Regions from separate parts of the Homo sapiens genome. Here regions 1, 2, 3, 4, 5 and 6 are each linked to region 7. The links are contacts of gene promoters, found by promoter capture Hi-C in human tissues and cell types (Jung and others, 2019). All regions are on one chromosome and are shown on one strand. The core of a region is centred on a gene start or on the middle of the fragment in contact, and the rest is flanking DNA. Distances in the headings are between cores, read along the strand shown. Region 1 has its middle 130 kb from the start of LIMCH1. Region 2 has its middle 80 kb from the start of LIMCH1. Region 3 overlaps APBB2 (amyloid beta precursor protein binding family B member 2). Region 4 overlaps APBB2 (amyloid beta precursor protein binding family B member 2). Region 5 overlaps APBB2 (amyloid beta precursor protein binding family B member 2). Region 6 has its middle 110 kb from the start of LIMCH1. Region 7 holds the start of UCHL1 (ubiquitin C-terminal hydrolase L1).

Region 1 (3,656 bases), core at 813-3,312, 160 kb before region 7:
GATGAGTAGTTGACACAGTGACATAATGCATAATTTTACATCAGGCTCCAGGTCCAGCATAATTTACGGTCATAACAAAAATGTCAATCGCCCGGTATCTGACATACGGATTTACAGTCTTAGCTGCGGCCAAGTCAAAGTGCATTAGATTAGTCTAGCGTGTCTAAACATCTGACTCTAATCACTACGGTAAGGATCAAGTCAGGCATTAGAGGCTTATAAGTATATTTCATGGAATGTGAGAAGTTGAGAGGAAAACAGTTTTTAAGGGGGTAGATCGGGATAACGGTTTTTTAATTTAAGATAATCAACTTCAGTAGTACGTGAGTTGTCTCTCCCTCTCAACCCCCTTCTCTCATGCTAAGAACTCGGCTACGTCTAGTGCTGTCAAACCAAGAAGGTCAGGAAGAAAACAGAAGAGGGATCTGTCAGTGATCAGTGGTTTTCATACTATTCATTGTCCTATGTTGTCCACACACACACTCTTCCTGCCCCCCCATCCTGTTAATATGAATAATACAGGATTATATCATGTTTTATTTACTCCCAGATATTTGGGAGAATGAGTTATAATAAATCTGTAATCTAATCTTTTCTCATGTAAACATAAGGAATTGAAGTTTAAACTAAATATATTTATTACCCTCTAATGATATTTCCCATTCTACCAGGCTGGAGAAAGGCAGGCCCCTGCCCCCCTTTAAGGTCTGCGTTAAAACTGCACCAGCTAACCCCGGTTTACTAATCCTCAGTCATTAATCTTCTCCCTCAACCACTTCCTTTTTATAAACCACAGGAACCTCTGCTAGTCTTTTTTCCTTTAACCCATTTATCCTCCTCCTACTTGAGGTCGGCTTTACATTATGTGGAACTGATCTGGACATTAACCACTCCACAGCATAATAGCCATGTTAAATAAATATTCACTGCCACCAGAACAAATGGCATAAGATGTTAACATCTTGCCATTTCTCTTGGTCTTTATACTACTATTGCTATTTTCTTAAAAGTTAATTATAGGCCAGGGTCACATCTATTATCCCAGGACACTGAGAAGCTGAGACAGGAGGATCACTTGAAGCCAGGATTTTGAGACCATCCTGGGCAACAAAGCAAGACCCCATCTCTACAAAAAATACAAAAAAAAAAAAAATAGCCAGGCATGGTGGCATGTTCCTGTAATCCTAGCTACTCAGGAGGCTGAAGTGGGAGGATCGCTTGAGCCCAGGGGTTCAAGGCTGCAGTGAGCTATGATTGCACCACTGTAGTCCAGTCTAGGCAATGGAATGAGACCTTGTCTCAAAAAAAAGTCAAATTGTAGATACATTTTCATGGCTCCATGAGACTTCAAACCATTTGGCCATAAGGTAACTTACCTGGAAGTTACCTTACAACACACAAAACTGATATTTAAAAAAAAAAAAAAAAAACTTATTATGTCTACATGTTGCATATAATAACATGGCTCTCTGTTAGTTTTTTTAAGACAAAGAGGACTCAGGAGAAAACAATGTCATGAGCAAAAATTTAAACAACTTACAGATCAATATGTAAAGGAAGGAGAAGGGAATTTGACATTTATCAAGTTCCAGATATTGTCATGCACATTATCTCAATCTTCAAAGGTGGTAGATAAGCTTATCCTCAAAAAGTCCTTTCCCTTTAGCTATGAGGATCTCCAGATTTGAGGCCCCAACTTCAGCAACTTACCTAGGTTACAAAGCTGGTAACCCCCAGAGTTGAGCTAAACCATTTTTTTTAGTGCAAAGTCAGTGATATCACACTAGTCCCCTAGATGAACATCTTCCCTTTTAATTTTTTCTCTTGACATGGTGGATCCTTCTTGCCATCCACTCAGCCAGAAGGCAAAGGTCAAGTGTACTTGAATCCAGAAGGATGTGTTTCAATCCCAGCTCTGTCCTCACTTCCCCAGAGTCTCTTGGTCTCTCATTTAGCCTCTCTACTGCTCATTTCCCCACCTATAAAGCATGATTCTAACACATGATGGTATTAGAATATAATGCAAAAAACCTTCTCTCTTTTCCAATGCACTGACTTTCCCATACACATGCATACATATATAAACTGACCCAATTACTATATTCTTTTTTTAAATACTGCCCTAAATATTAACGTTTTAGTTTCCCATTTTACCTCTATTTCCCCCTATGACTATAAAACCTCATGTCACTTAGTATCCTTAAGTAACCTCTGTAGATACTGGGATTATCTAAGTCTTCAAACCCGAAAAGTGAAAGAAAAATGCAGATTGAGATATGCAATTCAGCACCTAGAACAACAGCCATCATATCTCTTCAGTACCTAATTATATTCCATGTCTTAGTATCCTCTAATTTTCAACTTGACACTTTTTTCAGACACTATTAAAAATATTTGGCTACAAGAGGCATGAGGAAGACCAAGTGCCATATGAAATCTTCAATTTGTACCTTTAATAAATTGCTGCTCAGCTGCACCAACTCCAATGCCCCGCTGTGAGGATGAGATCTATGGGTCACAGCCTTAATACAGAAGAAAACATTTTTTTAAAAGGGAACTTAGTTGGACATAGCTAATAATCTCTGCTAATGAGGCTGGTTTTTAAAAATGCACATTCTCTGTGATCCATGTAACAGGTTTTCAACCTGTGTCAGGGCTATCCTTTTTTTTTTTTTTTTTTTTTTTTTTTTTTGAGATGGAGTCTCGCTCTGTCGCCTAGGCTGTAGTGCAGTGCAGAGATCTCGCTCACTGCAACTTCCACCTCCTGGGTTCAAGCAATTCTTCTGCCTCAACCTCCCGAGTAGCTGGGATTACAGGCACCTGCCACCACGCCGGGCTAATTTTTGTATTTTTAGTAGAAACAAGGTTTCACCATTTGGCCAGGCTGGTCTTGAACTCCTGACCTCATGATCTGCCCGCCCCGGCCTCCTAAAGTGCTGGTATTACAGGCGTGAGCCACCACACCCAGCCTATCCTTTTTTTTTTCCCTAAAAGCTGAGTCCATTGGCAGATGGTGGACCACAAGAGTGAGTGGTGGAGCGATCAATCCGGCAATGAATCCCAGCCATTTGTGAGAGAGGAAAAAGTCAGGTTTGGTTGCTTAAAGCTTCAAGGGAACTTCCTGATAAAAAGAAAAACAGCAAGCTGGGCAGTAGCCTGCACCTATAGTCCCAGCTACTCAGGAGGCTGAGGCAGGAGGATTGCTTGAGCCCAAAAGATCAAGTCCAAGCCTAAGCAACATAGTGAGACCTTGTCTCAAAAAACACAAACAAAAAAAACAAAAACAAAACCCAGCAACATAGTAATTTTCGGCTGAGAAATTTTGATCATGTTGGCCATGATGAGATAGAATGCCATGCAAGCAAAGGAACAGGTTATATATAAAAGTTTTTGTCCAAATTCTCATCTCTCTATTATCCCAAATATAAAACTTAGTAACTTAAGAACACAGGCTCTGGAGCCAGACTGCCTGGATTCAAATCCTAGCCTGAATACATTTTAGAAACATTTGTAAATGAGACATTCTAGGTGAAAATACACACTGTAAAAATGCTTTACAAACACAGGCAATCATTCAAGTGCTGAGTTTGAGAAGACTAAGAGTCTTCAATGGAGTCTAACGTAATAAGGGAGAAGAAATAACCTGATGGTGGTGA
Region 2 (3,690 bases), core at 224-2,723, 200 kb before region 7:
GGCAACAGGGTGAGACCTCGTCTTTACAGAAAATTAAAAATATTATTTGGATGCATTGGCACACACCTGTGGTCTCAGCTACTTGGGAGGCTGAGGTGGGAGAATTACTTAAGCCCAGGAGGTCGAGGCTGCAATGAGCCATGTTGAAGCTGCTGTACTCCAGCCTGGGTGACAGAGCAAGACCCTGTCAAAAAAGAAGGAAGGAAGGGACAGAGGGAGGGAGGGAAGGAAGGAAGGAGGGAGGCAAAGAAATACCTAAAATGATTTTTCTTTTCCTTACTGAACACTAATACACCATCCTAACTAAATTTTCCTCTTTAAGCTCTTTATCCTTGTAATTACTGCCATGAAACTCAGCCATAATCAGCATGTTCATCTTCCAAATAGTAAATGATACAAAAGTATCTCAGAAATCATAACTTGTACAGTGCCAAGCATGTTATTGGCAGTTTTGCATATCCTAGTTCCTTATAAGAACTCTATGAAATCAATATTATTTTTCCCATTTTATAACTGAATATAATGAGGCTTAGAGAGCAACTTCAGCAGGTTGAACAGCAACTAAATGACTCAGGATGCCTCAAAAGTTCATATAAGTTCATGCAAAGTCATTCCACTCAAGTACACTATTTAAACACTGTCAGTTCCTTCCCATTGTCTCAGGAAAGAGTTCAGCTTCCTTAGCCTGATATTCAAGAAAGGACTCACAATCTATTTTTTTTTTTTTTTTTTTTTTGGTGACAGAGTCTCATTCTGTCACCAGGCTGGAGTGCAGTGGCACAATCTCAGCTTACTGCAACCTCCGCCCCCCAGGTTCACGCCATTCTCCTGCCTCAGCCTCCTGAGTAGCTGGGATTACAGGTGCATGCCACCACGCCCAGCTAATTTTTGTATTTTTAGTAGAGACGGGGTTTCACCATGTTGGCCAGGATGGTCTTGATCTCTTGACCTCGTGATTGGCCGCCTCTGCCTCCCAAAGTGCTGGCATTACAGGCATGAGCCACCACGCCTGGCCCACAATCCATCTTTAACTCACCTTTCCAGCCTTGGCTCCTACTCTCTCCTTGCCCAAACCCAAACTGAACTATGTGCTGTTTCCTGCACATATGTGATTAGTATTATTCCACCCCTATTCAATTACTAGGTACCTCTCAAGATCTGTTCAAACTTTGATTTAATTTCAACATATTTATTTGGTTTTTTTACAAGTCACTCATTTTAATCATTTTGTAGTAGCAAATAAATTGGAAGCAAGATTAATGTGCAAAAAGAAGGAGATTGGCTTGTTACAAGTTCTTCCTTTCATCGAGTGAGATACTATGCATCCATTTTTTTAAAAATTTTGTGGGTACATAGCAGGTGTATGAGGTACATAAGAAGTTTTGATACAAGCATACGATGCATAATAATTACATCAGGGTAAATGGGGTCCATCATCTCAAGCATTTATCCTTTCTTTGTGTTACAAACAATCCAATTATACTGTTTTAGTCATCTTATCAACATACTTATTAATTGCCTCCTATTTTCAAAATATCTTTCTCTTTCTTGCCCTTCCCTGAGGTTTCCCATTTCGTAGTTCCTCATCTATTTATCCATTATTTGCCTTATAGTCTAGTTATGTTCTTATTTTAATACCTTTACTAAATAACAAAGTCTTTGAAGGCAAAGATGCTATTTCAAGGATTTTTTTTAAATCTCCAGTCAGATGATTTGCAAATGTTTTCTGAATGGATTTGCATAACTGTTCACAAATGCAGCATCATGTGATTTCTTAAAAGAAATGAAAGTCAAAGGCCATGGCTTTGTCCAAAGTCTACCTTCACCTTCGTTAGGGATGTGGCCTCCAGAGCCAAACTGCACACTGCCTACGTTCTAACTCAGCCCCAGCACTGAGTGACTCTATGATTTGGGCTAAGCTACTTAGCCTCCCTGGGCCACTGTTTTTTCACTTATAAAATAAAAATAATAAAACTACTTGCTTCAGTACTATTGGGAGGATTAAATGAGCAATTTATGTAAAGTACTTACAACAGTGCCTAGGACAGAAAAAATGCTCAAAAAATGTTAGTTCTTATTAATATCACATCACCTCTCAAGCCAATGGTATAATGGACCCAGTTAAAATCCACATAATTTCCCTACGTTATATAAAAATATCAATCCATAATTCTCCTCAAGGTCTCTTTCTAGAGGCCTCCAGAAAATAAACTGTCTATACCTATTCAACAAGATAATCAAATTTATTACAAGCAGAATAATGTCAGTAAGACTGTGAAAGCAAGATGAAATTAATTGCCAATTGAGAAATTAAGGTATATATTTCAGAAAACTTGTCTAAATTGAGAGCTATGTATCTAATAAACTCAAGAGATTTGTTACATCTACTGTAGAGAGCACACGTGCATTTTCTCTGTATCTAACCAAAGTATAAGTTCTGAATTTTCAGGTTTGATATGCCAGGTTCCAAGTAGAATTTCCCTTTGTGCCCTCAAGCTCTGATGGTCTTAGCCTCTGTGACAGAGACTGCTGCTCTTACATAGGAAGAGAATATTGTCTTCACACCTTGAAACTCAGCCCCCATACTGTGAGGGAGCCCGGGCCACATGGAGAGGCCACATGTCGGTATGGTGGTTGACAGTCTCGCTAAAGTCTCAGCTGACCTGTAGCATCGACCACCAGACATGTGAGCAAACAAGCTTCAGATGATTCCAGCCCCAAACCTCTGAGCTGACCCAGCTGACAGTGAGTGGAACAGACAAGCTAGCCCTGCAGAACTCTGACCAAATTGCTGGTCTGTGAGTGAAACAAATGCTGTCATTGTTTTCAGCCACTGTTTTGCCATTGAAAGTAATGCTAAAAAGCACAATTATTTTGCACCAACCTAATAACTAGAGCAGATGGTTTGTTATAAAGCAGCAGCCCATTGATAAAGGCAGCATCTCCTCCCTCCCTCTGCCTTAGCGTCTCTGTCAAAACTGCAACACTGGTCAAAGAAGATGGTCAAGGGCATACAGTATTGTTTTCAATCTAGATGAGTCTGATAAAAAAGCAATTTTGTCTGATTAGTTGCTTAAGACAAGGCATATTACTTGGTGTACCCAGGGAATTTGCAATTGCTCTTTTGGGCATGAAAACATCACACACATGCACACGCACACACCCAAAACAATCAAACATAATAAGAAAAATGAGAAAATTTGCATCAAAGATGCAAATAAAACTATCCAGGGTGAGGCCAAAAACAAAAATTGACATAAACCTAAAATTTAAGCTGTGTGAGAAATATAAACCTAGCCATGTTTCTGGAAAATGGCCATTAAAGCTCATGCAGCTATGGAGTCGTAAGTTTTACAACCTCAGTAGGCCAAATCGTCTCACTGACAAACTCACTATTGCCATCAAAGATACTGATCCAGCTGTTTCACTGGTATTACAAGAACTCATGCAGGCAAAAACAAACAAACAAAACAAACAAACAAAAAAAAGTGTGTCTCACATCCAGGAGTTAAATAAAATTGGAAATAAAAGAATGTTGAAATGCAAATTCACTAACCAGGTAAGTAATTTTACTAGTCATTTTAAAGGAACAAGAGATTTCTTATGTGTTAGTATCAAGTCAGAAGGTACCACCATTGGATATCTTGTCTGAGGTCGAAGAGTCTTTCTTTAACAACAGGTTAATGTAAC
Region 3 (4,214 bases), core at 254-2,753, 210 kb after region 7:
AGATGAAGGAAAGCATCTCCTAAAATTTTTCCACCCAGTAGATGAAAATGAAATTAAATAATTGGAATGTCACTGTTTTCCAACCCCTGTGGATTTAGTGGATTTAGGCATTGAATAACAATGGCTGCTAACATTAGAAATGAATGAAAACCAGATACCATGTGCTTCCTGATGAAAGATCATACCACCACAGACTGAATTTCAATCTGTTCAAGCCTCTGAATCTAGCTCCAATTTGCAGGCAATTCAGAGGTTGGAGAAACGAGTTAAACATGCACCACCAAAATTCATACTGTGGAAACTCCATAACTCAGACAGCCCAGACTCTTTCAACAAATAAGTTGTAAGGAAAAGAAAAGGATAGAGGCGATGTAGATTAAATAACTTAAAAGACATCAAAATTTTAAAAATAGACAGCACTAATGGTGACTAGGATTATACACTCGGGTAACAGAATCATAAAGAAATGCCAGGAACTGATTACCATAAATTCAAGAGTTTGTTTACTTTGGAGGAAGGGAAGGGCATGGAGGGCCTTCTAGGGTAACAAGCAAAAGCTGTGTTTTGATTAAGATGGTAGTTATGGGTGTTTTCTTTGTAGTAAGCTATTTGTTTTGTGTGGTTTTCTTCATCTGTGTTTTATTTTACCATAAAAAGATTTTAAAATATTTTTATGAAAGAATGACACTATACATACTGCCTTTCTCCCAACTTTTATTATGAGAAGTTTCAAACAGAAAAATTGAAAGCATTGTGTAGGCAATACCTATATACTCATCATACTGTTTTACAGTTAGTTTTTTTCATTTAGTGTTATTTAGTAAATATCTTTCTGTGCAATTAAATATAGAAGCAGCCTCACTTTTAAGTGATGCATAGTATTCCATTGTAGGATGTGATCCTTTATTTAATCAGTTTCCTAATGATGGACATTTAACTTGTTTTTGATTTTTTTCTAATAGAAATAATACTGCTTATTTGTCCTTATGATAAATACCTAAAATTTGCTTTGTCACAGCATATTCTAATATGCAAAGTATAAATGCTGATGTGCTGTGAATGAACAGTTAGCAGTAGAGACTAAAGATGCAGCCTGTATTAATCAAGACAGCCCTGTGTAACCTAGGGAGAACATAAACCTCAAAGAAAAAAATAAAAAATAGATTCCCCCCGCAGGATCCTCACATAGCATTATACCTTTCTTGGATCAGTTTAGGTTTCATCCCACAGCTCTTCTACAATCTCATTTGGTTGTTGTGGCTATAACTAGTGTATCAATTGTGTATTGCCACAATTAATGCTGCATAATGAAGCACCCCAAAATTCAGTGGCTTAAACAATAGCCATTAGTATTTTTGGGATGGCTGAGTGGTTCTTCTCATAGTCTCTGCTGAGCTCACTCATGTGGCTACAGTCAGCTGCAGGGGTAGTAGACAGATCTGCTGATCTTTGCAGTGTTCTTTCATGTGTTTGATGGTTGGCTGGCTTAGGGTGGTCAAAAATGGCCTGACCAAGAAGATTCAGCCATCCTACCCAAGTCTCCCAACACCCTTCCAACAGGCCTAGGCATATTCTTATGGCAGTAGCACAGATCCTGTCTTTTTCAGGGGAGCAGAAATGGGTCCATACATTCTGAGCTTCTGTGTCATCCCATTTGCTAACATCCAGTTGGCCAAAACAACACAGTTGAGACCAGAGCCAGGGGAAAGGGATTGCAAGGTTACGGAGTAGAGGGCAAGGATGCAGAGACGCTGTTGATTGGGGTCATTAACTTAGTCCTCTATAGTTGTCCAATAGCATATTTTAAATTGGCACATCTTAGAAGCATTAAACATTGCAGTTATTTCTAAATTGCAGATGTTAATGCCTTTGGAATATGAAAGTTGGGGATCAGGCCGGGCACGGTGGCTCACGCCTGTAATCCTAGCACTTTGGGAGGCTGAGGCAGGCAGATCATGAGATCAGGAGATGAAGACCATCCTGGCCAACATAGTGAAACCCCATCTCTACTAAAAATACAAAATTTAGCCAGGTGTGGTGGTGCGCACCTGTAGTCCCAGCTACTCAGGAGGCTGAGGCAGGAGAATCGGTTGAATGCAGGAGGCGGAGGCTGCAGTTAGCTGAGATCACGCCACTGCACTCCAGCCTGGGTGACAGAGTGAGACTGCCTCAAAAAAATAAAAAAAAAGAAAGTTGGAGATCAGGTATATTTGTGGGGGAAGCATAAAGCTTTTGCTTCATTGAAAAAATTTCTGATTAAGTGTTATAAAGATAACTCTTAAATGGAAAAATCTACATTTAATGTTATATCTTGAAAATATTTCTTTTCCAGTTGTTGGTGTTTTCCCCTGGGATACATTTCAGAAAATAGGCTTTTTTTCTGTCTGTGCATATTTTTCTTTGTTTGATAGTGTTCTTGGAACTGGTTTTGAAATCTCACTTGGAGAACACAGAATGGAGTAAGATAAAGAGCTAGGATCATAAATCAATGTCCTTAAGTATTTTTGCGAAAGATAAAGAAATTGGTGATAGGATTAGTTCTTGGACCTTTATTGCCACAACTTTTTTCTCTCTGTTTTAGACTATATAAGTGGTAAATTAAGGATCTCTCAATGCTGTGATTTTTAACAGCAGGTATGCAGTGACCAGCTATGTGAATGGCAAAAAAATTATTACCAGTAACGGTTAATGTTCCAAAAATGTAAGAAATTCAAGTTTATTCCCATAGAGTACAATGTTATATGCCAATTCAGTGTGTACACTTCTGTGCAGAAATAAAAATATTGGAATGAAATTTTGCATTCCATATACTTATTAAATACTCTTCATTATGCATGCATTACAAGACTATACACATTTTACTTGTTTAACTGAAACTGTGTGTATTGTACTAAGCAGGCAATTTAAAGGATTTTTTTTTAAATAGTTGACTGTTATTGAATTTTGCTTTATTTTCTGACTTTAAAACCCACCCCCAGAGTGAGTTAAAATTTCACACATGTAGCCGGGCATGGTGGATCACACCTGTAATCCCAGCACTTTGGGAGGCCAAGGTGGGGGAATCACAAGATCAGGAGATCGAGACCATCCTGGCTAACACGGTGAAACCCTGTCTCTACTAAAAATACAAAAAATCAGCCGGGTGTGGTGGTGGGCGCTTGTAGTCCCAGCTGCTCGAGAGGCTGAGGCAGGAGAATGGCGTGAACTCGGGAGGCGGAGCTTGCAGTGAGCCGAGATTGCGACACTGCACTCCAGCCTGGGCGACAGAGCGAGACTCCATCTCAAAAAAAAATAAAAAAATAAAAAATTTGCAGATGTTCTCAAGTGTGCTTTATTTTGCTTTTCTCAGCTGCAAGCAACAAGAGGACTCAGGTTTTGCCTACCAGCAGTTGAGAGGCCCCTTTTTTTTAGTTGCCATGTATATGAGGATGTTGGACACAAACTTCAAAAGAACCCTAGTAATGTGGTGAGAATTGTCTTGTGGCATTAATTAATTTAGGCTATTTGAGTCAACTTGGAGAGAAGAGTTCCAAAAAACATGGTGTAATGATTTTGAGCCTCTTTTTTAGAGGTGAACAGCTGGTACCAGCTCCATCACTTGCCTCTGGTGGGATCTTTGGCATGTTACCTAACCCTCTGTGCTTCAGTTTCTTAATCTGTAAAACTGACATAATAACCATATCTTTTTCATAGGGTTGCTGGAGGTGATCAGTTAGATAATCCTTACAAAGTACCTACTTAGCACAATGCCTGGCACATAATAAGCATTCAATAAATGTTATATAGCGTTAGTGCTGGAAGGACCCGAGTCATCTGATAGAAGTACTTCGCTTTATAGATCTGGAAATAAGGCTTAGTTCTCCGGGGGAAAATGTTTAAAACCTTAAAGTAAGAGGGAATCGGTATGTTTTTGTAGATAGATCTAAGCCTGGAATGCAATGTCTACTTTAAAAGTATTCATCACTAAAATAATCCTGTAGATTTTCGAGAGCAAGCATCTGCCGACAGTTTTTTTGACAGCCCTTCCTCTGCTTGGCAGGTTACAATGATGATTTCACTAATGTCAGAAAGACAATTTTCTATATAATTATAGTTTTTAGCTCCATTCTTGGACTCAGCCTACTATTTGTGAACGTTTTCACAAGAAATCAGGATGGGGCAGAAAAAGAATACAGAAGATGTGAACTACAAAAATTTATTGGGCACTTACTTAT
Region 4 (3,856 bases), core at 864-3,363, 190 kb after region 7:
AGGGATTCACTTGTCTTATTTTAATATATTGGTATGTTTACACATTTCTCACTATATTTTAACTTCCAAGAGACCATTACCACGGAGAAAAAAAATTATTTGTTAAGAGAGTTGGAGGTGTCAGGATTTAGGTATACTGTATGTGGTCTGACTTGCTTTGGACAGCTCTGCCAAGTATTGTGTATTAGTATGTTGGCAGTTGGAAGGTGAAAAATTGCTTCTTTGCTGATTTTAGAAAGTTCTGTTTGTATTTCTGAAAGTAAGGCAAGAAACAAAGAGAATAGAAGAAATTTAAGGGAAATAAGGTAATATATGTGAAGGTGCCTTGTAAACTGCTAAATCACATTACAGCAAGTGTTGAACTTAAAGTGAGAAAATAAGATCCACAAAGATGCTATAAAGAAAAATGGGAGAAAGAGAAAAGAACTTAGATAGGAAGTTGTTAAGAAGAAACAAAATGGGAAAATCATAATGGGGAATTTTTACATTCTAGGTTTTTTTTACTCTGAAAATTCAGGAGTAGTTGTTCTTGCTATATGAGCAGTGAAGTAAAAAATATTTTTTAGCCGAGAAGAATGTTCTGTGGAAATAATTGGGAAAAAGAATCTTATCTGGGGTGGTGAAAGTTGGATAGAAACTACTAGGCACAAGACCTAGTCTAAAAAAAGGTCTAAATAAAGATCTGTGTGTTGTAGGGGGTTATGTACTTAATTAAGGTGTAATTCACATTTGTTACCACTTAATTAAGGTGTAATTCGTATTTGTAGATCTCTTCTGAGCCTTTCCTTTTGTTCTCAATCATACCTTTGCAAGGCAGATATCCTTAGCCCATTTTACAGATGAGGCTTGGAAGGCTAATTGATTTGCCAACAGTCACTTAATGTATGCAATGGTAAAGTCCTCCCTTTCTTCAGGTTCTGAGTTTGTTCCCACATTTCTAGATTGTTCACATCAGGGCAATTGGTTTTGTTGTGTTTCTGGAGATTCTGCTTATTGAATTTCTCCAAAGGAGGTGCTTGTTAAATAACAGTGGTCACTTAGAAATAACACGCTCCGGGCAGGTTTTTTAGGCTTGGCTAAATGACTTCAAATGAGTTCTGCTTAAGGAACACTATTTGAATTCCCTAAGAACCAAGAAATAAACAAAAAAGGCATCACAACAGCCCAAGTATGTGTTCAGAGGCCGTGCCCTGTGCCCTTCAGATCTTATCTGGAGCTTGGTATTTTAAGTTTCGTTCTCTTACACTTCATTATTTTATTTGAATTCCAAAATCATAGCTGACTTGAAGAAGGGAAAGGTTGGTACTATAACAGAAATGAGATGCAACTCTTTAGGACAAAGGAGAGGAGATAGCCAGACTGTGAAAGGCAGACACATATCCCCAAAGCCTAGCCGCCATCTGCCTTTGAGTAGAGGAATAAACAGCCCTCTGTTGCCTCAGAAGCTTCTGAGAACAGCTGTCTTGCCACTGGCCTTTAATGGGCAGGTTAAACCCAGTTACCAGCAGGATACACACAAAGCCAACTTCACACCCTCTCCCTCTATTCGCCATCAATTTATCTCCAACTCAGATCCTGACTCTAGTCGGCCACAGCTCTTGACTTCAGACCTGGCTCTGTAACTTGGATTTCCCCTTGGGCTCTCCAGAGTGTATTTATATCTGTGCTTTCCTTGTTGTGAGAACTTCAGCAGTCTCTTCCTTTTGATTCTCATTGCACCCTGTGCTTTAGTAGTAACTCCCCATCCAGCTCTCTTTGTGGTGGTAGAAACCCAGCTCCTACCCAGTAACTGCTGCCACTCCTTTTCCTTGGAGTTAGTATTCTCATGTTCCAGCAGAGCAAGTAATTTATAGTCATGTTGATGATCCTGTGTCACCAAACAAAGATTAATCATATTCTGGATTCTCTGAAGAAGGCATTACCTTTTAGAAAAAAAAATTAATCCACTATGGTTGAAATTAAACCCATTTTGATACTTAAATGGGTAATCCTTCAGCTGTTTTGAAAATCGTGATCATTCTCAATGTCTTATTCTTTGAGATTTTTTTTAAAAAATTTTAATTGTTTTTTTTGAGACAGAGTCTCGCTCTGTCACCCAGGCTGGAGTGCAGTGGCATGATCTCTGCTCACTGCAACCTCTGCCTCCCGGGTTCAAGCGATTCTCCTGCCCCAGCCTCCCAAGTGGAAGAGATTACAGGTGCCCGCCACCACGCCTGGCTAATTTTTGTATTTTTAGTAGAGATGGGGTTTCGCCATGTTGGCCAGGCTGGTCTCGAGCTCCTGACCTCAGGTAATCTGCCTGCCTTGGCCTCCCAAAGTGCTAGGATTATAGGTGTGAGCCAGCGTGCCCGGCCTATTCCTGGAGATTTTAAAAAGCAGAAATTATATTGTACTATAACTGCAGAATGATGCAGAGAATTATAATTATTGAATTATAGAATATATTATTTTGGAAGAGCATAAGCAACCTTTTAGATAGCTTACATCACCTTTCTATTAAAAATTGTTGCTTTAAGTAAAGCCATTTAAAAATTTTTTGTGTACAAACTTATCTTTTAGGTCAACAGCAGGAAATGCTTAAGCAGAGCTATTACATATCTTAAAATAGTGAAATGAGCATTGTAGAACTAGTGGCTGTTGGCATGAAATGTTTACTTTGGAGAGAATTCTTGGCATTTTTGCCCCACATCAGCATAGTAAGAACTTGTAGGAGAGGAGGGAAGCATTAATGTATTTGTTGAGGATTAATGACTTTGTAGAGCATTTGTGATAGTGAATATATTATGGCTAGTACCGTAAATGCAGTAATTAAAAAGCTGCACACTAAACACTTTGTAGACTGGCAAATATATTCCCTTCCTTTCCTTGATGGCTTGCATTCAAGTGAATAGCGTATATTTATCTTGATCTTAGCGTTCTTAAGAGTAGAAAGAAGTCTCAAAGGTTGATTTCCTTCCCGAGATATTGCTAGTCAGATGGACACAATCAGATTTGATGTTTTCAGGATCAAGTTATTTTTTAACAGTTCAGAAAAATGTCACGTGGTACATACTAATAAAAAAAACTATTCCTCACCTTTGGAAGCTTTATTATTAAAGTTATTTTTAGACAAATATTACCTTGTGCTGCTGCGTAATATAAAATGTGTTCAGGCCAGGCATGGTGGCTCACGCCTGTAGTCCCAGCACTTTGGGAGGCCGAGGCGGGTGGATCGCTTGAGGTCAGGAGCTCAAGACCAACCTGGCCAATGTGGTAAAACCCTGTCTCTACTAAAAATTAGTCGGGTGTGGTGGTGCATGCCTGTAATCCCAGCTACTTGCGTGTCTGAGATACAAGAATCACTTGAACCCAGGAGGCGGAGACTGGAGTGAGCCGAGATCTCACCACCGCACTCCAGTCTGGGCGACAGGAGTGAAACTCTGTCTCAAAAAATAAATAAGTAAAATAAAATAAAATGTGTCCAGTAAGATCATGATACCTCAGGGCTTCTTTTATTATAAAAGAAGTAAAATTGTGAGTAATAGAAATATATATTAGGACTAAAACAGACCTGCAACCAAGGTGAATTTTTAAAATTTTCAAGGAAGCGAGACTTGGTTATCTCATGACTATTTATCTTACTGCCCCAGCAGGTTAAACTGAAGTGGGTTGTGTGAATGAGCATCTGGGAGGAGAGGCACCATGCTGTGAGAGTAATGATGTCCTGTCCTTCACAGGGGAGGATGACAAAGAAGGCAGACAGATGTAAAGTCTGCAATTTCTGTTGCTTTGTGTCCTCAAAATGTTCATACCCATCTATTTTCCCATTTAAGAGGCATCTTGTGTTTCATAATTTCTGAGTCCTCCCACTTAACAT
Region 5 (3,989 bases), core at 488-2,987, 160 kb after region 7:
GGATGTTATTACCCCATTTTCAAGATTTTGAAACTGAGCCCCTGGCAGGTAAAATAACTTGTCCAATGTCACACAGCCAAGGAGTGGCATTGTCACTACTTGAACCCACCACTGTAACTGTCATGTTTATGCTCTTAACCATTTTGCCACATTTATAAGTGATCTTTTCTGTTTCACTCCTTTAATATCCTCCTTGCATCCTGTGTTGTTTTTAACTTGAATTGATCATATTTATGTAACATTTTATTTAATTTGCTATACTATAAGATCCCGAGGGCTGGGGTCAGGTCTCATGAATTTTTTTGTCTTTCGTAGCACCTTGCTTAATAAAATATGGCAGATAACACTCAATAAAATGTGGTTGACAGAGGCTGGGTGCGGTGGCTCATCCCTATAATCCCAGCACTTTGGGAGGCCAAAGCAGGCAGGTCACTTGAGGTTAGGAGTTCGAGTCCAGCCTAGCCAACATAGCGAAACCCCGTCTCTACTAAAAATACAAAAATTAGCTGGGCGAGGTGGCATGTGCCTGTAATCCCAGCTACTCGGGATGCTGAGGCAGGAGAATCGCTTGAACCCGGGAGACAGAGGTTGTGGTGAGCCAAGATCGCACCACTGCTCTCCAGCCTGGGTGACAAAGGGAGACTCCCTCTTAAAAAAAGTGGCTGATAGAATTAATAATCTCTAAGATTCCTTCTGTCTTCTAAAGTTAAATAATTTTTCATTCTATAGGTAAAGCTTCAGTTGCAGTTATACAGTTAAAGTCCAGTAGAACTTAAAAAGGGCTTCTTGGATGTTAGTTTGGTGTTTGGACTGATGGTTAAAGTTTCAAGAAATTCCTAATTGCCATTTTATCTGAAAAATAATTTGTGACTTGCTGTCAAAGACTGAAGCGAAGAGTAAAGTGTACTTCTTGCAAGCCCTTTTTGGAGGCTATAAAGCTATGCTTGCTGCTTCATTGCTGCAGCAGGTATAAAACTCCAATGTCATAAATGATATTTTTGAGTTCATAAAAAATATTACATTGTCACTCATATTAGTAAGGACCTCAGTCTCTAAACTCATGTGGAGCCCCTTGGGCCAATGGTCACTTGTTTTTTTCTTCTTCTTATTTTTATTGACAAATAAAAATTGTATACATTTATAGTATACAACATGATGTTTTGAAATATGTATACATTGTGTCAATCCTAAATTAAGCGAATTAACATATGGATTACCTCACATAGCTGACAGTCACTCTTGTTTGGTGCCTGCTGGAGTCAGATTTAGACAACAAAGTGACAGTTAAGGGCAAGTGACTGTCAGATGCCCTGGAGTCAGACTGACTGTATAGGTTTGGATTCCATCTCTTCTGCTTATGAACTTTTTTTTTTTTTTTTGAGATGAAGTTTCGCTCTTGTTGCCCAGGCTGGAGTGCAATGGCACAATCTTGGCTCACCGCAACCTCCACCTCCCAGATTCAAGCGATTCTTCCGCCTCAGGCTCCCAAGTAGCTGGGATTACAGGCGTGCGCCACCACGCCCAGCTAATTTTGTATTTTTAGTAGAAGTGGGGGTTTCTCCATGTTGGTCAGGGTAGTCTTGAACTCCTGAACTCAGGTGATCTGCACTCCTTGGCCTCCCAAAGTGCTGGGATTACAGGCATGAGCCACCGCGCCCGGCCCTTCTTACGAACTTTTTAACCCTTGGCAAGAAAAAAATCTGGGAAATGAGGATGGGTAAGAAAACAGGTTGTGATCATAGGTTCATGTACCTGGTTCATTAGGAACTTAGGGAAAAAAAAAATCCTTATCCACTTGGAAGCCACTTTTTGCTCAGATACCCTTAAAAGGAAGCCAAAATTGTGAACTTGTAGGACAGAATTTAGCACTTCAGCGTTATAGCCTATGTTTATCTCAGGATGACCCTTTGCTGTTTTTAAAGCAGAGTTCACGTGCTCTTGTAACTACTGACTGCATCTACTCTCATGAGCCCTAAGGAGGTAGTTTAGGCTTTGCTTCATGCTCTGTGTGCCTGAGTAAAATAGGAAATGATGGCTTTTAAGAAAATGGAAATTATTACTTGAGATCAACATTTCATCTGGGCTTTGAAAAACTCTGGGGTTTCTTTCATCTTCCAGGAGAGCAGCACAACTGAGCTGTGAGAAAGGAAACCAAACCCTAGGGAAAGTTTTATAGCTCGTTTCTGCTGATGTTACTGGAAAAGAGGAAGGTAAGGGCCTCTAAATAGCTCTCGTAGCCTCAGTCGACAGTAAGTTCAGGTGTTCTGGAAATAGAACACAGGGGAGCTCTTTATCCCCATTGGCCTCTGCTTGGCCTGAAGGAGAGGGTGAAACAGCAGCAGAATGGATCTCTTAAAACATTGTTGTACAGCAAAAACAAATGTATTCCCACAGCAGAGTTTCATATTTTCTTTCATGAATTTAAAGTTGAACAGAGGCCGGTGATATTTTTCTCTTTTGAAGTTTTACATCTTAGATTGCTGTAAGAGCAAGCACAGTTGAATGAAAACTCTATTCAGACCAAGTACTTTTTTTTTTTTTTTTTGAGACGGAGTCTCACTCTGTTGCCCAGGCTGGAGTGCAGTGGTGCAATCTCGGCTCACCACAACCTCCGCCTCTCGGGTTCAAGCGATTCTCCTGCCTCAGCCTCCCGAGTAGCTGCGAGTACACACACGCGCCACCATGCCTGGCTAATTTTTGTATTTTTAGTGGAGACGAGGTTTCACTATGTTGGCCAGGCTGGTCTCAGACTCAGACCAAATCTTACTCTTGTTGTCTGTAGCTGCTTAGTTCTGCGCTTTAAACTAAGGGCAAACTTGGCTCCTGCATTCTTGACAGTGAAAAGCAGGAGCTAGGAATGCCGACTTTAAAAACCCACTTCCAGGTTTGCCTCCACCCATTATGTGATTCCTGCAAGAAAGCTTCAGTCTGCTGTAAGCTGGTAATCCCTTAATACTTTGATACTTTGGTAAAGCAAATAAGATCAGATTATATAACTTTTCCTTTTACTTGTGAACTAATTATTGTTTTCCTGCATTTAAAAGCAGATGTTAAACTCCTCCTTTGATGTTCAACAGCAGACAGACTCTAGTTGTGCCTTACAGCCCTTGATGCATGTCTGTTGTTTGAATGAAGATCAGCTTTGGCAAATTAGATTTTGATGGCTGCATTTTGATCTGGACCATAGAAGAGAATGGCAATTTATTCTTTTATTCAACATTTATTGGATTCCTGCCTGGCCCTTTACATAAATTGTGTTCAGATCTCACAAATACCAGAAAACCTTGCAAAACATGTCTATTTTATAGATAAGAAAAAATAGAGCATAGAGAGTGGTTAGAAAACTTGCTCAAGGTTACTTACCTTGCTGTTAAGTTCCTGGGTATTTGGTTGGATTTTTTTGCTGACCTCAAACCTGTTACTATATAGGGGCTGCCTTTTAAGAGGACATAATCAATGGAGCAAAGATCTTGAGGAGCTGGGATTAAGAAAAAAGTACTTAATATATAATCACAGTGTTGTGGAAGAAAGAAATAATCATGAGCCCCTCATTCATTCATTTACTCCGCAGATATTTATGGACTGCCTGTGTTGTGCTAGATAACTCTGCAAGGTGTTGGTGATTCAGTGATGGGAAAGACACAATCAATCCCTCACCAACTTCAAGAAGGAAGTAGGGATGCAAGAAAGAGTATATGATATGTTGCTCCCCTAAAAGGCCACAGTGTCTTGTTTGGGAGAGCTTTTATGAAGTTTTTCAAGATGTAAAAATGTTGACATCTTCACAAAAATTACTTACTTTTTTATTCTTTTGCTTCATTATGTATACAAAAGTATCTGCAAATAAACGGGGGGTGACTTCGCTAGCATACTTTGTAGCTGCACTCCTTGTTTGGGCTGCTTTGGACGTGCAGAAGTGGAGGTTGGAGCAAAAACTGTATTGCATTTTAAACAAAGTCTTGCAAACAAAAATTGTGGACAATTACCTC
Region 6 (3,808 bases), core at 10-2,509, 170 kb before region 7:
TTTGTTTTTCTAGCTTCTATCTTTACCCTTACTTCTCAGTACTAACCCTCCTGTTAGGGATGCAGATCAGGGGCCACCTGTCCACAGAATCTGACGTTATACGTAAAGAGTTACACAAAGGACAGGCTTCCAGGTCTCTAAAGTTCTCTGTTAGGAATCAAGAGCAGCAACACACTCATATTTTAAAGTCATCCAGAAAAGAAGTTTAGACTGTACAAAAAGTCAACAATACACCCTGTTATTTTTAGCTGCCACAATTAATCCACTCAGACAGTGTTCACACAACACGCATCAGCCAGCAATATAACCTCCCTATTTTAAACCCAAATTTATCTGTACTATAGAGCTGAGTGGGGAAAAACAGCAATTTTGAAATCAAACAATCACGGATTTAAATTCCAGTGCTAATCTTACTAAGTATACTGCCTTGGACAAATTATTTAACATCCTAGCCTAAATTTCTTCACCTGCAATGTGCAAGTAATAGTCATAGCTGCCTTACAGAGTGGAGAGAAGATTAATTATGATTTCATAGAAAAAAGAAAACTTCAATTAGGAACTAGGCACAGAATCATTATTCAATTGGTGTTAGTCATTATTATTAAAATTATCAAAGTTTTTGTTTTCTTCTCCTATAGTATGAACACCAATCCCCTCAGCCCTTAATCATCCATTGCTGGCTGAAGTAATCACCCAAAACTCATAATAGCACAAGAAAAGATTTATAACTTAAAAAGTGTAGAGGATTCAGTCTATATGTAATGTAACAGATGATGGGTGAGGGAAAATGTGAGTAGAGAAGAAAACATACACATATCATAATAAAATAAGATCTTTGCGAAGTCAACTGTGACTCCAAGAGAATGCAGTCTGTATTTATTTTCTTGGAAAGTTAATGGAAAACTAATTCAGCTAGATGCCTTTTACCTCCTTGATGTAGTCCCATGAGATAAAATGTAATGAAGTTCTTTAAAAACCAGTAAGCACTGTGCCAATAGGGAATATTTATTGGGTGCTTGTTACATGTCAGACACTGTTGGCATTTTATATAAACCATATACTTAACCCTCACAACAAGCCACTGAAACAGTTCTTATGCTCTTCATATGACTGGGAAGGAAGCTGAGAATTAAAGAGATAAAGCAATCTGCCCAAAGTTCTACAGGTAAGAAGGGGCTGGCCAAGATTCCAACTCTATGTCTATAGATCCTCAAAATCTGCTCTTTCCACCAAGCAGGGGGAGGTGGTATGTCTCAAAGCTTTGACCCTTCCTCTGAATTTTGCAGAGAAGAAGGGAAACAGATTACATAATCATTTTTCATTTCATGTCTAGACTCTAGGACACAACCCATAACCCACTAGGAAGCAGACAAGAAGCATGGGGCTGTGAGCCCAACACTGGAAATGCATCTGAGGAGGATGGAGAAATAACAGTCTGAACATTCAGTTGCAGTTTAGAAGGTCAGCACCAACTTCTGACAGATGTCTGCTATTTTAAATGACAAACTTGCTTGTGCATTGTGCAGAATTGCTACACTTTCCGTCATGAAGCCATAATGCTGGTTTATTTCCAATTTCAGCACTGAAAGACACATAGAAAAAAAAAACAAAACAGAAAACCAACTGGCTTTCAATGGAATTCTGTCTGAGATTTAAGCCAGCATGTAATAAAAAAGTTATTCTCCTTAGGCACATTCAATTTTTAGACTGCTAAAGCATGGCAAAACCACAAAAATGATGTCTTTCACATATAAAGATTCAAGAAAGGACCCAAACATTATGTAAAATTAAGTAAAGCCAATTTTTCTTCATCATATTTAAGTTCTGAAGATTATTTAGTAGCTATTTGTAACTTTTGGAACATACTTACAAAAACTGGAGAAATGAAACAACAAAGGAAACATTCCTAATCTTTTAAAATACAGAGATGGGGGCAGGGTGCCCGATGGCTCAAGCCTGTAATCCCAGCACTTTGGGAGGCCGAGGCAGACAGATCTTGAGGTCAGGAGATCGAGACCATCCTAGCCAACGTGGTGAAACTCCATCTCAACTAAAAATACGAAAATTAGCCGGGCGTAGTGGCACGTGCCTGTAGTCCCAGCTACTCGGAAGGCTGAGGCAAGAGAATCGCTTGAACCTCTGGAGGCAGAGATTGTGGTGAGCCAAGATCGCACCACTGCACTCCAGCTTGGGCAACAGAGCAAGACTCTGTCTCAAAAAATAAATAGATAAATATAATAAAATACAGAAATGGTTTTAAAAACATCTTAGCTTCATCACCATCATTTTGAAATTCCTATATAAAGCTATTTCCCCCAAAAAATATAATTTCTCTAGAATTAGAATACACTCCATTCATCTTTGTGCCCCTAGACTCTATTATGGTATTTGACTTACGTAACGTCTATACTGTATTAGGAATTTAGTGCTGTTCACCAAATATTTCCAATTCTCCTTCCTCCAAGAACATTATAGGATTGTGTTTCCCTGCCCATCCATGTGAAGTTAGGCATGGCCATTTGACTTGCCTTTCATTGACTGGCCAATGAATATGAGCAGAAGTAATATTACTTCTAAGCCAAATCCCACAAGACAGTGTGCATGATTCACCATGTTTCCTTTCCTTCCCTTGTAACTGGTGACAGGGGGATATCTATCAACGTGCATCTACATGAAGGCCTACATGAAGGCCAGCCCTCCATGGATATGTAGCATAGCCAATAAAGAAAATGGTGTTTCTTTAAGCAACTGAGACTTGGGTATCATTTGTTACTGCAGCATCATCTAACACATCCTGTCTGATAAAAACACTGAATGAAAATTTAATGAAGAAAAATCAAGAAAGGCAAACTGGAAAAATATAAGTGCCATGACCACTTCTGCGGACCTCACCATCCTTTTTCCATAATTCTTTATAGGTTCAAATCTGAGAATACTGTGCTTACCACAGCCTGATACAAACGCTAATATAAACCAAGTTGAATATTTGTTTGAACAGAGCATCATGCTGCCAAATGCCATTGTTGTCGCCAGCACCTCTCAAAGATACTCAAATCTGTAGAGAACAGTCTGTTCACATAGCTTATGCCAGAATAATAAGTATGTTCCTCAGAAATGAGTACCCTTCACTCGGTGGCTATGGCTAAACGCAAGTGAATTTATATTTAAAAAAACCCATGGGTCAGAGCACTAGAAGCACAAATAAGAAAAAGAAAAAAAATGCTGCTTTGTAGAATAAGACTACTTAAAGAGCCCAAGGGAAAAAATGAGAATAAAGCAAACCAAAAAACAAAAACATACGCATTAAAAAATGGTGCACAGATGGACTGTAATATCAAAAATCTGCTATCAAGTTGGGAGGAGGAATTCAGCACAGCCACTCAAGCACCACTCTCCCTCGGCTGGAACTCATCTGGAGGATTTGCACCTGCTATTTACGTTGCTGCATGCCACTTTCTTCCTTCCCAAGAAGAGATTTCAAACAAGGAGGCCCTTTCACAGGCAACTTCGAAAGAGTAACAGTCAGAAAAAAAGTAAGAAGGGGAATCAAATGCTTGAGATGGGAAAGGAAGAAATCACAGAAGAAACCATGGAAGACTTCAGGCAGCAGTGAGCGACTGTCTTCACACAGCAACTCAACCCCATGCCTCTCAGCCCTGGCTTTGCCATTAGCGATGCTCTCTCTTCTCACTCACTGCCAGGAAATGACTTAGATACCAAGTGTCAGCTCTTTCATCTTTCCTCAATCCAACCTGAAATCTCAGTCTGGCTTCTGCTCACAGCACTCCACTAAAAATGGAAACCAGTC
Region 7 (3,833 bases), core at 394-2,893:
GCGCTAATGACTGGGATTCCATACATCACAAGACTGCAAATATCCTAGCTATCCTTTAAAAAAAAAAATCTGACGCTGTCTTTCAGATACATCTATCCATGCACACTTGTAGGAGGAAAATCATTTCAAGGGAAATGCAAAGGTGCTTTCAAAACTGAGCTAATAACCCCCTATTTCAGTTAGCTACAAGGTCAGAGATGAACAAGGATAAGTGAAGAGGAAGGAGGTTCCCACACAGAAACCATACACAAAATGATTAAGCTTTAAGAAATACATTCAAGAGGCTAAAAACCAAGTGTGCAAGTGGTGGGAGTGGAGAAGAGAGAAGAACCCCTTAAGACCATCAGAAACCCAAGTAATGGAGGCGGAGAATTAGCGAACCTAATTGTTTCCCTGCGATTTAGGTCAGCCCTTCCCCCTCCATTCTACAGCTAGGTGGGAGTCTGAGAAGCAAACAATGAGTTGACAGGTTATAGCCCTTAAAGGGAAACCAGCAGCCATTCCCCGGAACCGGAGGCTCGAAAAAGCCCAAGTTCGAGGGAACTCATGAGTAGGATGAATGATTTCCCTGGATAACGGGATAGATGGAACTGAGATACTGCCTCTCTTCCAAATTTAAGGCAATTGTGGACGGATGGGCAAGAAGGCGACAGGCACCGCTGGAACAGGAGCCCAGGGAGTAGGTACCACGAAAATGCAGGCTCCTCCCTTCCTTGTAGGCGCGCCCCGCATCACCTACAGGGGAGGGGGCGGGGCGGGGAGCCCCCGAGGACTCAAGCTGGGGAGCGGCGTGCACTGCCGGCGGCCGGCGCATCCTGGGCCCCACGCCCTACCTGGGCCGTGAGGGGAAACAGCAGCAGCAGCGCGCAGGCAGGCGCTGGCACCGAGCCCAGAGACTCCTCTTCCAGCCCCAGCACGTCCACGAAGCGCCACTGGCCGGCGACCCCCAGCCGGGACAGCACCTGCGGAGAGGAGACAAGGCGGCCAGGCGCACGGGGACACGCGGGTCGCGGGCACCTGCCAGGGGGCGGGGCCAGGAGGCGCGCGCCCTCCGCGCCCGCACCCGAGCCTGGGAGGAGCCCCAGTCCCGCCCTGCCACCCCCACCCGGGCCGGCGCAATGACACAGCACAAAGCGCGGCCCACACGTGGCGCCCGCGAAGCCCGTGCAGCCGAGTCTGTGCTGCCCGCGCCACGCCCTCGGGAGCTCCGCCTGGCGCTCGCTCGCCACGGGGCGCAGCCCCCTCCGTCTCCCCGTGACCGGTTTCGTAGAGTCACCCGCTAAATGCAGGGGCCCAGGAAAGGCGCCCAGCCCACGCCCCAGCCCGGCCGTCTCCGGTGCTCGCAGCGGGCGGCTTGGTCCCTGCCAGCAGCCGGAACCGGTGGGCGCCCCCGCCTCGGCGCTCGCGGGGGAGGGGGCCAGAGACGGCGCGAGACGCCACTCACTTTGTTCAGCATCTGAAAGGCAAATGCAAAGAAAAAGGCAAAACCGAACCGATCAGCGACTCGGCTCCCCCTCCCTCGGCCTCGCGCTCTCCGGGTAGCGGTGCACCTGGCGCTCACCTCGGGGTTGATCTCCATCGGCTTGAGCTGCATCTTCGCGGAGCGCCCGGCAGAAATAGCCTAGGGAAGACGAAAAACAGCTAGCGGAGCCGCCCAGGCTGCAGCTATAAAGCGCCGGCCAGACGCACTGTGAGGCCTGTGCAGGGGGAGCAGGGGCAGAACCAAGCGAGGGGGAAACGGACGGTCGCGGCCAGATGGGTACGAACCCCCCGTGCGCAGCGCGGAGTGGTACGGCCGGGCCCCCAAACCTTGCAGTCTCACTCGCCGGTGAGATAATCTGGTGGTTGTGGAGACGGGATTTGTTGGTGGGTGTTCCTTGAGTGTATGGAGCAGTCCTTTTGATGGAGTCTTTAATTTTGGGCGAAGTTTCTGGAAACCCATCCTTTCACCATCCCAATTACTCTAAAGCTCGAGTCTCTGAAGCATTTGAGAAAAAGCACAAATTCAACAGGTATATATTTAATACGAATGAATGTAAATGTGTGCCCCCCGCCCCAAATCTCTCAGCAGTTTGCGTTTAACCTTAGACAATTCCTCCTCCATGTTAAGTCAGACCAGTACCGAGGTTCGTTTTTAAGTGACTACCTAGAATAAAACAGAATCTGGTAGATAACAGATACTGCATTAGGAATGCTGATGTAATGTGACTCCCGCGGAAGAAATGGTTGGTCCTGGGAGAGCAGTAGAAAGCTGGGGGATGTGAGGGTAATACAAGACACAAAGAAGGCAGGCGATTGGAGACTTGAGAAAACAGATCCAGGGAAAAGATGGGTATGATTTTGAGCGAGAGGCTGTAAAAGGAAAAGCATTTTTAAAAGAATGGGAAGCTTTGAAAAATAAAATGTCTGAGTTCACCGCAGAATACTCCCAATGAAGAAGAAAGGGAATGGCAACCAAGGAAACCACTGTTCTCTAATGATCTCAGGTGATCTCTAATGATCTCTAGTCAAAAGATGGAGAGAGAAAGCATTTGCTGAAGAATGAATTTTAAAAGGGACCAAAATCTATAAGAATTGTGCCAGGAAAGCTAAGCTGCAGAACAAAGTGGGCTTGCAGAAATACTTAGGTAGCGAAGGAAGCAAGAAGGTTGAGTATTTTTTAAAAATAGGCACCGAAGAGAATAATGATGATGGTAAAAGAATAGACCTTCTATTTAGGAAGTTGAGGTTAACAGATGACAGAGGGAAGGGAGGGAATCAACATTTTTTGAGTTATTGTTTTTGGGGATCCTTTGCATGTGTCTCTCATTTAATCCTTAGAGGAGCCGTGAAGAGACTCATATTAGTGCAATTTTACAGATCAGAATCCCAGGCCTAGAGAAGTTAATTTGCTTACGGTCACAATTGAAAAGTAAAACTGAGAAGTAAACCCTGCTAAACTGGGCTCCAAGAGCCCATTCTTTATCTAAGATTCCACAACATTCTACTTCTATTTTCTTTCCATTTTTGCCATTAGAAAATGACCTTCACACACAAAAATGAGAGAGAAAAAAATTAGTAAGAGGAGCTTAATGGGTGAATCTTATGGTATGTAAATTTTCCCTCAATAAGGTTGTTAAAGAAAAAAAGAGGTGAAGGTCAAGACAAGTGACTAGGTTATATTGAATGAGTTCTTGCCTTTAGACAAAGACAAATTACATTTCCAATTTACTTCATTTATTCATTCACTCAACAAATATTAAGAACCTACTGTGTGCTGGGTGCCGAGCTTGGAAAGTTTGGAATTAGGCATACAAAGATGAACACAATAAACATGGAAATTTCCCTCATGCCGTTTTTTTGTTTGTTTGTTTTGTTTGTTTTGTTTTGAGACGGAGTCTCGCTCTGTCGCCCAAGCTGGAGTGCAGTGGCGCGATCTCGGCTCACTGCAAGCTCCGCCTCCCCGGTTCACGCCATTCTCCTGCCTCAGCCTCCGGAGTAGCTGGGACTACAGGCGCCCGCCACCACACCCGGCTAATTTTTTTTGTATTTTTAGTAGAGACGGGGTTTCACCGTGTTAGCCAGGATGGTCTCATCTGCTGACCTCGTGATCCGCCCGTCTCGGCCTCCCAAAGTGCTGGGATTACAGGCGTGAGCCACCGCGCCTGGCCCCCTCGTGCTGTTTTTATCAGTCATAAGAGTTGTATGAAAGGGAGCAGAGATCAGGAGCACCTAACCTAGTGGAGGGGATCAGGAAGGCGTCCTGAAGGAAGTGACATTTAAGCTAAGGGCTGATCGGCAAGCAGACGTTAGCAGTTATAAGTGATTGCCAAAATAACTAATAAAAGCAGTCA

The links. Contacts are between HindIII fragments. The study calls those that stand out against the background at their distance.
Region 1: a contact is called between a fragment that was not itself captured here and the fragment with the promoter of UCHL1 in region 7, in 2 of the 25 tissues and cell types used here (hippocampus and mesenchymal stem cells).
Region 2: a fragment that was not itself captured here is called in contact with the fragment with the promoter of UCHL1 in region 7 in 1 of the 25 tissues and cell types used here (bladder).
Region 3: a fragment that was not itself captured here is called in contact with the fragment with the promoter of UCHL1 in region 7 in 2 of the 25 tissues and cell types used here (dorsolateral prefrontal cortex and hippocampus).
Region 4: a fragment that was not itself captured here is called in contact with the fragment with the promoter of UCHL1 in region 7 in 2 of the 25 tissues and cell types used here (dorsolateral prefrontal cortex and hippocampus).
Region 5: a fragment that was not itself captured here is called in contact with the fragment with the promoter of UCHL1 in region 7 in 2 of the 25 tissues and cell types used here (hippocampus and stomach).
Region 6: a contact is called between a fragment that was not itself captured here and the fragment with the promoter of UCHL1 in region 7, in 1 of the 25 tissues and cell types used here (hippocampus).

Annotation. Positions count from the first base shown.
Region 1 is chr4:41,410,993-41,414,648 of GRCh38, reverse strand. It overlaps a transcript of LIMCH1 not described here. Among named protein-coding and RNA genes, the nearest start is that of LIMCH1, 130 kb to the left of the region's middle. The HindIII fragment of the contact is 4,812 bases long and covers 1-3,656 here.
Region 2 is chr4:41,455,820-41,459,509 of GRCh38, reverse strand. It overlaps a transcript of LIMCH1 not described here. Among named protein-coding and RNA genes, the nearest start is that of LIMCH1, 80 kb to the left of the region's middle. The HindIII fragment of the contact is 5,437 bases long and covers 1-3,690 here.
Region 3 is chr4:41,039,968-41,044,181 of GRCh38, reverse strand. All of the region lies in intron 4 of APBB2 (amyloid beta precursor protein binding family B member 2), which reads left to right. Among named protein-coding and RNA genes, the nearest start is that of APBB2, 170 kb to the left of the region's middle. The HindIII fragment of the contact is 8,647 bases long and covers 1-4,214 here.
Region 4 is chr4:41,069,897-41,073,752 of GRCh38, reverse strand. The region is part of intron 3 of APBB2 (amyloid beta precursor protein binding family B member 2); the gene reads left to right. Among named protein-coding and RNA genes, the nearest start is that of APBB2, 140 kb to the left of the region's middle. RefSeq lists an enhancer at 3,424-3,856. The HindIII fragment of the contact is 4,450 bases long and covers 1-3,856 here.
Region 5 is chr4:41,091,245-41,095,233 of GRCh38, reverse strand. All of the region lies in intron 3 of APBB2 (amyloid beta precursor protein binding family B member 2), which reads left to right. Among named protein-coding and RNA genes, the nearest start is that of APBB2, 120 kb to the left of the region's middle. The HindIII fragment of the contact is 4,749 bases long and covers 1-3,989 here.
Region 6 is chr4:41,428,688-41,432,495 of GRCh38, reverse strand. It overlaps a transcript of LIMCH1 not described here. Among named protein-coding and RNA genes, the nearest start is that of LIMCH1, 110 kb to the left of the region's middle. The HindIII fragment of the contact is 3,886 bases long and covers 1-3,202 here.
Region 7 is chr4:41,254,738-41,258,570 of GRCh38, reverse strand. It overlaps UCHL1 (ubiquitin C-terminal hydrolase L1), which reads right to left and starts at 1,643. Exons shown (of 9, transcript NM_004181.5): 1 at 1,562-1,643; 2 at 1,445-1,456; 3 at 834-962. The coding sequence starts at 1,594. UCHL1-DT (UCHL1 divergent transcript) reads left to right here and starts at 1,844. Exons shown (of 3, transcript NR_102709.1): 1 at 1,844-2,012. RefSeq lists an enhancer at 433-933 and a silencer at 768-1,527. The HindIII fragment of the contact is 4,741 bases long and covers 1-3,833 here.